3 separate regions of the Homo sapiens genome follow, and regions 2 and 3 are each linked to region 1. The links are contacts of gene promoters, found by promoter capture Hi-C in blood cells and fetal thymus (Javierre and others, 2016). All regions are on one chromosome and are shown on one strand. Each heading gives the region's core, a stretch centred on a gene start or on the middle of the fragment in contact. The rest is flanking DNA. Distances are from core to core; before and after follow the strand shown. Region 1 holds the start of ANKRD13C (ankyrin repeat domain 13C). Region 2 overlaps TYW3 (tRNA-yW synthesizing protein 3 homolog). Region 3 holds the start of DNAI4 (dynein axonemal intermediate chain 4).

What was found. The method cuts DNA at HindIII sites, captures the fragments that hold promoters and counts their contacts. A CHiCAGO score of 5 or more calls a contact.
Region 2: a contact is called between a fragment that was not itself captured here and the fragment with the promoter of ANKRD13C in region 1, in 2 of 17 cell types (total B cells and total CD8 T cells). The highest score is 8.9, in total B cells.
Region 3: a fragment that was not itself captured here is called in contact with the fragment with the promoter of ANKRD13C in region 1 in 1 of 17 cell types (total B cells); the score reaches 5.3 in total B cells.

The regions. Positions count from the first base shown.
Region 1 is chr1:70,353,385-70,356,189 of GRCh38, forward strand. ANKRD13C (ankyrin repeat domain 13C) reads right to left here and starts at 1,338. Exons shown (of 13, transcript NM_030816.5): 1 at 595-1,338. The coding sequence starts at 1,024. ANKRD13C-DT (ANKRD13C divergent transcript) reads left to right here and starts at 1,427. Exons shown (of 4, transcript NR_168352.1): 1 at 1,427-1,824. RefSeq lists enhancers at 1-944, 204-1,122, 1,078-1,127, 1,123-2,040, 1,168-1,227 and 3 more. The HindIII fragment of the contact is 4,699 bases long and covers 878-2,805 here.
Region 2 is chr1:74,737,591-74,740,395 of GRCh38, forward strand. TYW3 (tRNA-yW synthesizing protein 3 homolog) reads left to right here. Exons shown (of 6, transcript NM_138467.3): 3 at 1,100-1,198. Among named protein-coding and RNA genes, the nearest start is that of TYW3, 5.8 kb to the left of the region's middle. The HindIII fragment of the contact is 226 bases long and covers 1,257-1,482 here.
Region 3 is chr1:66,922,456-66,925,260 of GRCh38, forward strand. DNAI4 (dynein axonemal intermediate chain 4) reads right to left here and starts at 2,401. Exons shown (of 17, transcript NM_024763.5): 1 at 2,207-2,401. The coding sequence starts at 2,376. It overlaps MIER1 (MIER1 transcriptional regulator), which reads left to right and starts at 2,535. Exons shown (of 14, transcript NM_001077700.3): 1 at 2,535-2,640. The coding sequence starts at 2,574. RefSeq lists enhancers at 2,104-2,263, 2,554-2,805 and a silencer at 2,404-2,523. The HindIII fragment of the contact is 543 bases long and covers 1,078-1,620 here.

The DNA of each region.
Region 1 (2,805 bases), core at 88-2,587:
AAAAATCGGCTGTTGAGAAGTCACTTTAACTGTTCTACGTATCAAATACCAACAAATTTCTACTGTGTGGCTTTCAGAAATCTAACATTCTAAGTTTACTGAAAGCAGACAAAAAAGAAACAACCTGGTGGCAGGCAAAATCACAACCAGTTGCAGTCAAGATGGGATCTGTATGTGAGCAATGAAGGGAGGAGGGCAATTTATGCGTTCAAAATTTAAAATGCCAAGGTAGGGGGAAGAGAGAGAAATAAAGATATATAGCTCCATAAACAAAGGGAGAAAACCATGTTGGGTGGGAGGCAACCTAAAATTTCTGACAGTCCAGAATCAGCAAATCGAAGGCCTGTCTCAAACAAAACAGCTTCTCACGACAAACTTTGAAGTGGGCAAGGAGGATACATTCCTTTGCACCCACAAGAACCAACCCCTTGACCACTGGCACGCTATTACTGAGTCGATCATGATTTACCGAACGGCCCGGATGATGGGCAAAAAGAAGAGTCTGCTGGAGGGGGCCTAGGATTCCAGAAGCCTGGGGAGGCACACCCTAGGCTCGGGGAAGGAGAGAGGTGGAGAGGGGCTAGCACTCCTCACCGTGATTATCTTTCTGCCCGATATTGTGCGTGCGGATGAGAGAGGAGAGTCTCCTCACATCCCCCTTGAAGACGCACTCGTGCACCGGGTAGTGTGCGGGGCAACTGCCTCCATCCGCGACGACAGCAACGGGGTTGGTGCCGGCCAGAAGGGCCGGGGACTGGGAGTTGGCAGTCACGGAGGAATTGTGCAGCGGCAGAGCCGGGGCGCCGGGGGGATTGGAGGAGGCCGGAGCTGCCTTCAGCTGTAGCCGGTGGTGATGGTTACTGAAGATCTTATGACAAGCTTTGCCGCCCTTGCCAATCCTGCTTCTGGTAAAGGTACCGCCGAGGGCAGCCGCCGCTTCCTCATCCCCGGGCTCCAGCAGGTCCCCTTCTTCTTTGCTGGGCTTGTGGTCCCTCCGCAGTGAGCGGATCTTCTCCCCGGTCATCGCCGCCGCCAGGGGCAAGGGGGGGAATCGGGAGGCTCACCGCTGGCGACGGAGCTGGCGCTGCGGCGGCACAAGGCGATTAGAGCGGTGGCCAAGAGCCTCCAGCGCAGCATGAACTCCCACTGAGCCCCCGAGCCTGGGACAAACGCATCTCCCGGGGAAGAGCCGGCTCTCGCCTAGGCACGAAGGGACGCGCGCTCGCTGGGGGAAGCTAGAACTCAGGTGCCCACGACACCAGGATCTCAGTCTCGCCGTCGCAGCCGCCGTCGCTGCCTTACACCGAAAAACAGGGCACGGCCATCTTCCTCTTGCTCCTCTCGCGAGAGCTCCCCCAGGAGTGAAGAGAGAGAAAACACCGCGATAAGTGAGCCACCCGCTCCCTCCCTCGCACCTTCTATTCCCAGAATCACTAGGCGCCGGCGCCTCCGAGGCAGTGTGTTTCCGCCCAGAGCTGGAGTCTCCCAGCTGCCAGCCGACCCCGAACCCGCACTCCCGCCAACCGCGCTTTTTGTGGGCGGTCGGAAACCACAGCCTCCGTTGGATATGTTCGGTGCATGTTATAAACAACCACTTAAACCCTCCGGATCTGAGCCTCCCGCAGAGGAATGCAGAATGACGCCACGGCACGCAGGATGTGATGTCACCGAGATGCAGAGGATACTCAGTCAACCAACATTTACTGAGCATCTACTTCGTGCCGTATGTACGAAGCTAGCAAATATGTACAGCACCAGTACTGATTGCAGGGAGCACTGTAGAAGAGGAATGAAGGCCAAACAATTAAAAGCGGAGGCGGGGAGGTGGGTTGCACACAAAAAAGGGAGGGACGAATTTTAGTGTTGAGTTGTCAGGAAAGTCATAGAAGAGTTTAGGTGCTGACTTTGGAAAATGATGGGCTGTCCAGCAATCGGAAAGAGGGGAGGCCACTCAAATATTTATTAGATGAATGAATTTCGGGCAGATGTCAGAGTTAACATATATGAGGGTGGGGACACTCAAGGAGGGCAAAGAATCGTGTAACTGAAATATAATTGTATTAGTTCATGGCCAACCTCAACCTAGTGTCAAACTCTGAAGAAACGTAAATCTGCCAACCATAAAACTTTAACAAAGTAACTAAAGCTGGCCACTGAGGACGTAAGGAGGGGGCTTAGCAAAACATCCTAAAGATCTTCACCCATTTAACTCTCCAAAGTCCCCCTATGTTCTGAGAGCAAATACTTCAGATCTCTCTCTCTTTTTTTTGTTTTTTTGTTTTTTTGACAGAGTCTCTGTAGTCCAGGCTAGAGTGCAGTGGTGCAATCTCGGCTCACTGCGACCTCCACCTCCCAGGTCCAAGCGATTCTCCTGCCTCAGCCTCCAGAGTAGCTGGGATTATAGGCCTGCGCCACCACACCAAGCTAATTGTTGTATTTTTAGTAGAGACGGGGTTTCACCGTGTTGGCCAGGCTGGTCTTGAACCCCTGACCTCAGTGATCCGCCAGCCTCAGCCTCCCAAAGTGCTGGGATTACAGGCATGAGCCACTGCGCCCGGCCAGATCTCTTCTTTCTTAAAGTTTATACTACTGCTAACTCATCTCCGCAAACAAACAACTCGATGGGCCTCTCTTAATCCTCCCCAGTCACTCAACTTTTCACCTCCAATTTTCTTCTCAGTCTGTTCAGATAAATCTGTTTCTTCCTCTTCTTTCTTTTTCGGTGGAGTGGAGAGTTCCGTTTATGTTAAAACATTACCCAATCAACAGTTCAAAGCATCCTCTTGAGACAGCAGTAGAGACTGA
Region 2 (2,805 bases), core at 120-2,619, 4.4 Mb after region 1:
GGACGATGTTGCCCGGGGATGCTGGGCAGACAGAAATAATAACTGTCTTGTATAAATTCTAGCTCAGACACAATATTACATGTTTCACTAGGTGGTCAGACTACGCCGCAGGATACACTGTAACATGGGTGCAGCCAAGGTTAAAAGGCAGGCAAGTGCTACCTAGGGAAGAGACTAGTACCTGACTCAAGGTCACTAACAAAAAACACGCATACTAGGCTCAAGTGTTGTAACATTTGCTTATAGCAGGAGGGAAGAGACTACACAAGATCTAGCCCTTTGCAATGTGTCAGTCCCCATGGCTAGCAGATTGGTTCCACAGCTGATCAGGGCAGAGTGATGGCATGTACCCCACTTTGTGCTGCAGTAGCTCCCAGACCCTGAACACTGCCCCATAGGGTCTGAAATACAGAAAGCTAGGAACGTGCTCAGGGGCCATTGGTTCTCATGTAGCTGAGCAGTTCCAAGGTTCCTCTCCCAAAGTTAGGAGATAGCAAAAACAAACAAGTGAACAGGGAAAAAAAAACAAACAAAAAAACTGCAAGTTGCAATTGTTACAACAACTGTGCCTGTTACAGAGGGAACAGGAACTCACTGGCTGTGCTCTGAGCTCTTTGCATGCACTGCTATTTGTGAGCTTACTAGTGCTGCTGGTAAGCACTGGTGCTTGGTACAGGATGCTTCTTGGGAACATGGGTGGCAGTTAGGCTTTGTTTGGACCCTTCTCTCACATTACATTTGTCTCTATCTCAATCTAACAAAAAATTTAAACAATCCTAATACAGTTTTTGTATACTACATTTCCTAATGAAAAATCCGTTATGGAATTAAATAAAGTAGTAGTTTACTTCTTCAAAGCACACTAATAGGTGGAAAGAATGGTATAGAAGATTTACGGGAGAACTAGAAATTTTAAGAAAATAAGCAAATAAATTTTTGGTGAAAAAGGACCAAGAAAGCAGAGGGAAAAGTTACTGCAGAAAAAATATGCTGAGTGATTCTGAAAATTTCTAAGAGAAATTGAAGTTATGTATGGGGTAAAGGGTCGCCAAAGGACAGGCCATATACTTGCATCTGATACCACTGTTCATTTATTTAGATTGTAGCTCTGAAGAAAGCAAATGGTGATGCCACTTTGAAATTTGAACCATTTGTTCTTCATGTGCAGTGTCGACAATTGCAGGATGCACAGATTCTGGTAAAATTTTGTTGTAATTGTACTTGAATTTATAGATATGTGGGTAGATGTAATTTTAAGCTTTTAACCTGCTATAAATATCAATGAGATATTACCTTATTCAACTAGTTATGTATATATTATTTATTGGTCTGCTCAATCTATTAATTTTTAATATTAGAAAAAAAGAGTAGCTAATCATTGCTAGGAAAATATAAGTCCCAGGTTATGCTTCCTGTTTTCTTTCTTAACGTTTTTATTTATAAATTTTACTTCAGCATTCTATAGTTTGTTTTTGTTTGCCAAGCTTTAAGAAAAAATACTGTGGAACTACATGTAAAATTAAGAGTTTTAAAGAATATTTCATTTTTCCCATTTAAATGAGCATGCATGAGGTAAACATCTGTTTAGTCTTGATTCTCCTTTTTATACCTTTTATATATTTATATATAAAACTGAATTGCATTTTAAGCAACAATAATGTATTGAGTCTCAGTGTGTCAAGTACTAGGGGCACAGTGATGAACAAGATTAAAGACTGTCTTGGTTCCTCTTCCAAAGTTAGGAGACAGCAAAAACAAACAAGTGAACTGGCAAAAAAACAAAAAACAAACTGCAAGTTGCAAAATGTTCTACCGAAGGAAAAAACAACCTGGTAATAGAGAACAGTGCAAAAAGCAGCTCACTTGAAGATAGGCTTCTCTGAAAAGCTTTCTTTAAGCTAAGACTTAAAGGAACAGAAAGAGCTAGGCATGTAGCTGGGAAATGAACATTCCATGAAGATGGAAAAGTATATACAAAGTTTCAGTGGGTCTAGAGAGTGGAAAGAAGGTGCCAGAAGGAGGCTGGGGCCAGGTCATTTAAGGCTTTGTAGACCAGATTAAAGAGTTTGAATTTCTTTCTGAGTTCAGGGAAAAGTTATTGAAGGGACAGTTTTAAGCAAAGAGTGGCTTTCTAGGTTTTTGTTCTGAAAAACTCAGTTCTGCTTCAGCATAGAGAAAGGAGTGCAGTAAGTGAAAAGATACGAGTTAGGAGTAGTTTGTGGTGATAGGTTGGTGTAAGGTGATAGCACCAAAGCAGGTGAGAAAGGAATAGATTCAATATGTATTTCAGCATTTGAATCAACAGAATTGTAAGGTTGTCTGGGGAAGGACAGCCAGAGGGAGGAGGAGAAAGAGGAATCAAGGATAACTACTTAGGTCTGGCTGGAGCCCCTAGCTGTATGGTAGTCGCCTTTATCCAGATGGGGTGTGCTGAAGTTGAAGTGTGTCCAGAATTGGTTCCTTCCAGTGGGTTATTGGTCTCGCTGACTTCAAGAATGAAGCCGTGGACCCTCGCAGTGAGTGTGACAGTTCTTAAAGATGGTATGTCCGGAGTTTGTTCCTTCAGATGTTCAGATGTGTCCGGAGTTTCTTCCTTCCAGTGGGTTCGTGGTCTTGCTGACTTCAGGAGTGAAGCTGCAGACCTTCGCAGTGAGTGTTACAGCTCTTAAAGGTGGCATGTCCAGAGTTGTTTGTTCCTCCCAGTGGGTTCGTGGTCTTGCTGATTTCAGAAATGAAGCCGCAGACTTCCACAGTGAGTGTTAACAGCTCATAATGGTAATGCAGACCCAAAGACTGAGCAGCAGC
Region 3 (2,805 bases), core at 99-2,598, 3.4 Mb before region 1:
TTAGGCAAGAGGAAGAGTCTATAGTGAGATCCTGTGGGGCCCTGTAAAGAGTTTTACTGAGTGAAATGGAAAAAACTTGAGAAATGTTTTGAGCAGAACCACATTGATTACTACCTGGAGGGTGTTGGCAAGGAGACTATTTAGGTGGGTATCACAATGTAACACAGTGATTTACATGGGAGTGGTAGTCTGGATTTATTTGGCAGGTAGAAATGGTAAAATTTGCTTATAGAGTGAGGTATAAGATAGAAGTCAAGGGTAATCCCAAGGTTTTTCCCCTGAGTAAGTGAAAGAGTGGAATTTGCCATTTACTAAAATGAGAAAGATTGCAGTTAATTAGAAAAGACAGAAAATATTATATATTTGGTTTGAGATGTTTATTAACTTATAAGTGCAGGTGTTTTTTCTTAAAATCTGTTTTCTTGGGAGAGGTCTTAGCCAGAGATTAACATTTGTGAATCATCATTATAGGTGATATTAAAGACATCAGAGTGAAGAGGTTTATGGACTAACCCAGCAATACCAATACAGTCCTGGATCATCAACAATGAATCACATATACAATGGTGATCTGGTAGCAGAGCTGAAAAATTCCTATTGTCTAACAACGTTGTAGTTGTCACAACATTCAAGCACAAGACATTACCTTTTCTATGTTTACATACACAAATACTTAGCATTGTGTTACAATTGCCTACAGTATTCAGTACAGTAACATGCTATGCAGGTTGGTAGCCTAGAAGCAACAAATGCATTTTCATCATTATGCAAACACCATTTAGTGTACTTACACAAACCTAGATGTATAGCCTACTATAGCTTAGGTGTACAGTCTACTATACAATTGTAGCCTAGGTGTATAGTAGCCCATACATCTACGTTTGTGTAAGTACACTAGAAGATATTTGCAAAATGCTGAAATTGGCTAACAAGGTATTTCTCAGAAGGTATCACCATCGATGCATGACTGTATTTAGTTATGGTAGTGAGGAACAGATACCAGCAAAGGATCTGGGAAAGGTGAAACCATGAACCAAGACAAGAACTAGGAAGAGTGGTTTCTCAGAACCCAAATAAAGCTTTTCAAAGATCGAGAAGCGATAAACCCGACCGACACTGCTTCATTCAAAAAGAATGAAACTGTGGATCAGCCATTGTATTTGGTTGCATGGCTATTGCTGGCTTTCATAGAAGCTGTTTTGATGGAGTGGTAGGATGGACAAAAGCGTGAGTACCATATTCAAGAGAGAATGCAAGGTTCTCTCCCAAGAACTCTCAACAAGTTCCGCTGAAGAAAGATTAGCTGAGGTGGAGGAGATTGGAGAGGGGAAGAGAAAACAAATTACTTAGGGAATTTTGGGGGAACTTAGTGGGCAGCATTACGGGCAGCGCTAAGGAACCATTTAAAGTAAGACAAGTCCACACAGCTGTGTGCTTTTCTACAGTCTTGTTCAACTGCTGCATAACAACAGAATGTTGGAAGCAGGAATTAGTTTTAAAGTAAGATGGTATTGACGAGACGACAATAAAATACCTCTACTACAGAGCACAGCAATGTTCGGCCTGGTGGCTCACAGAAGCTGAGGCTCTTGAACGTCTGGGCACAGCATGAAAGCATCAAGCTTGAGAGACTGCAGGCCTTAACAAACTAGAAGTGCTAGAACGATGGTTCTAAACCAGGTCTTTTCTCACACAGCAAGCACAGCAATAGAGATTTATTTTATCTTATTTTTTAGACAGAGTCTCGCTCTGTTGCTCAGGCTCGAGTGCAACGGCACGATCTCGGCTTACTGCAACCTCCGCCTTCCGGGTTCAAGGGATTCTCCTGCCTCAGCCTCCCAAGTAGCTGGGATTACAGGCATGTGCCACCACGTCCGGCTAACTTTTTGTATTTTTAGTACAGACGGGGTTTCACCATGTTGGCCAGCCTGGACGCTAACTTCTGACCTCAGGTGATCCACCCCACTCGGCCTCCCAAAGTGCCGGGATTACAGGTGTGAGCCACCGCGCCCAGCCCAGTAGAGATTCTTTTAAAGACTGCGGTAGGTCGATAAAGGAGACATTGTGGCCTAGGAGCTTCAAGGTCTACAGACTGAACCCAGTTAGGGTAGGGCCCCTTTCCAAATCCAGAAATGGTATCTATTAATAGAAGGGCTCCCTCCGGGTCCCAGGGGGATGGACTACGGTTTTTAGCGCCGGAACTTACAACCCGAAGTTCTGCTGCTTGTGACTGCCTGCCGGAGAGACTGGCATGGTGGCGACCAGCTGGGGAGTGGTGCACCACCCCTTTTTTTGGCCGCCTCTGAAGTCCCTGTACCCCCAAGCTCCTCCGTTAGCGGCTCGGGCCGAGGCTCCGGAATGTTTGCCGGGCGTCATGGCGACGGTGGAGCCCTGGCTCAACAAGCGGCCGCGCGGTTGGCTGGCGGCACGAGGCCGAGGAGGAGGGCGGAGGCGGAGGGGAGGGCAGAGGGTTGGTGGAGCTGGAGGAAGCTCCGGACGACGACTGGAAGAAGGAGGCGGGCGGCCCGGGCCTCAGGCCCCTCCCAGGCTCTGAGTCTCCCGGCTGCAGGCGGATGGATGGGGCTTCTTCAGGCGGTGGCGGCAGCAGCGAAGGTGGCGGCGGCAGCAGCGGCAGCGGCTGTAAGTGCAGCCTCCACAAGCCATCTCTCCCCTTCTATTCCAGTTTGGGATGAGGGGCTCCTGAGGTGTCCTCAGTCCCCTTTCTCTCCTTCCCCTCCCCCACGGCAGTGTACCGCCCGGAAGACCCTTAACTTCCGGGGAGGGGCTGCCGCAGAACGCGCCTGG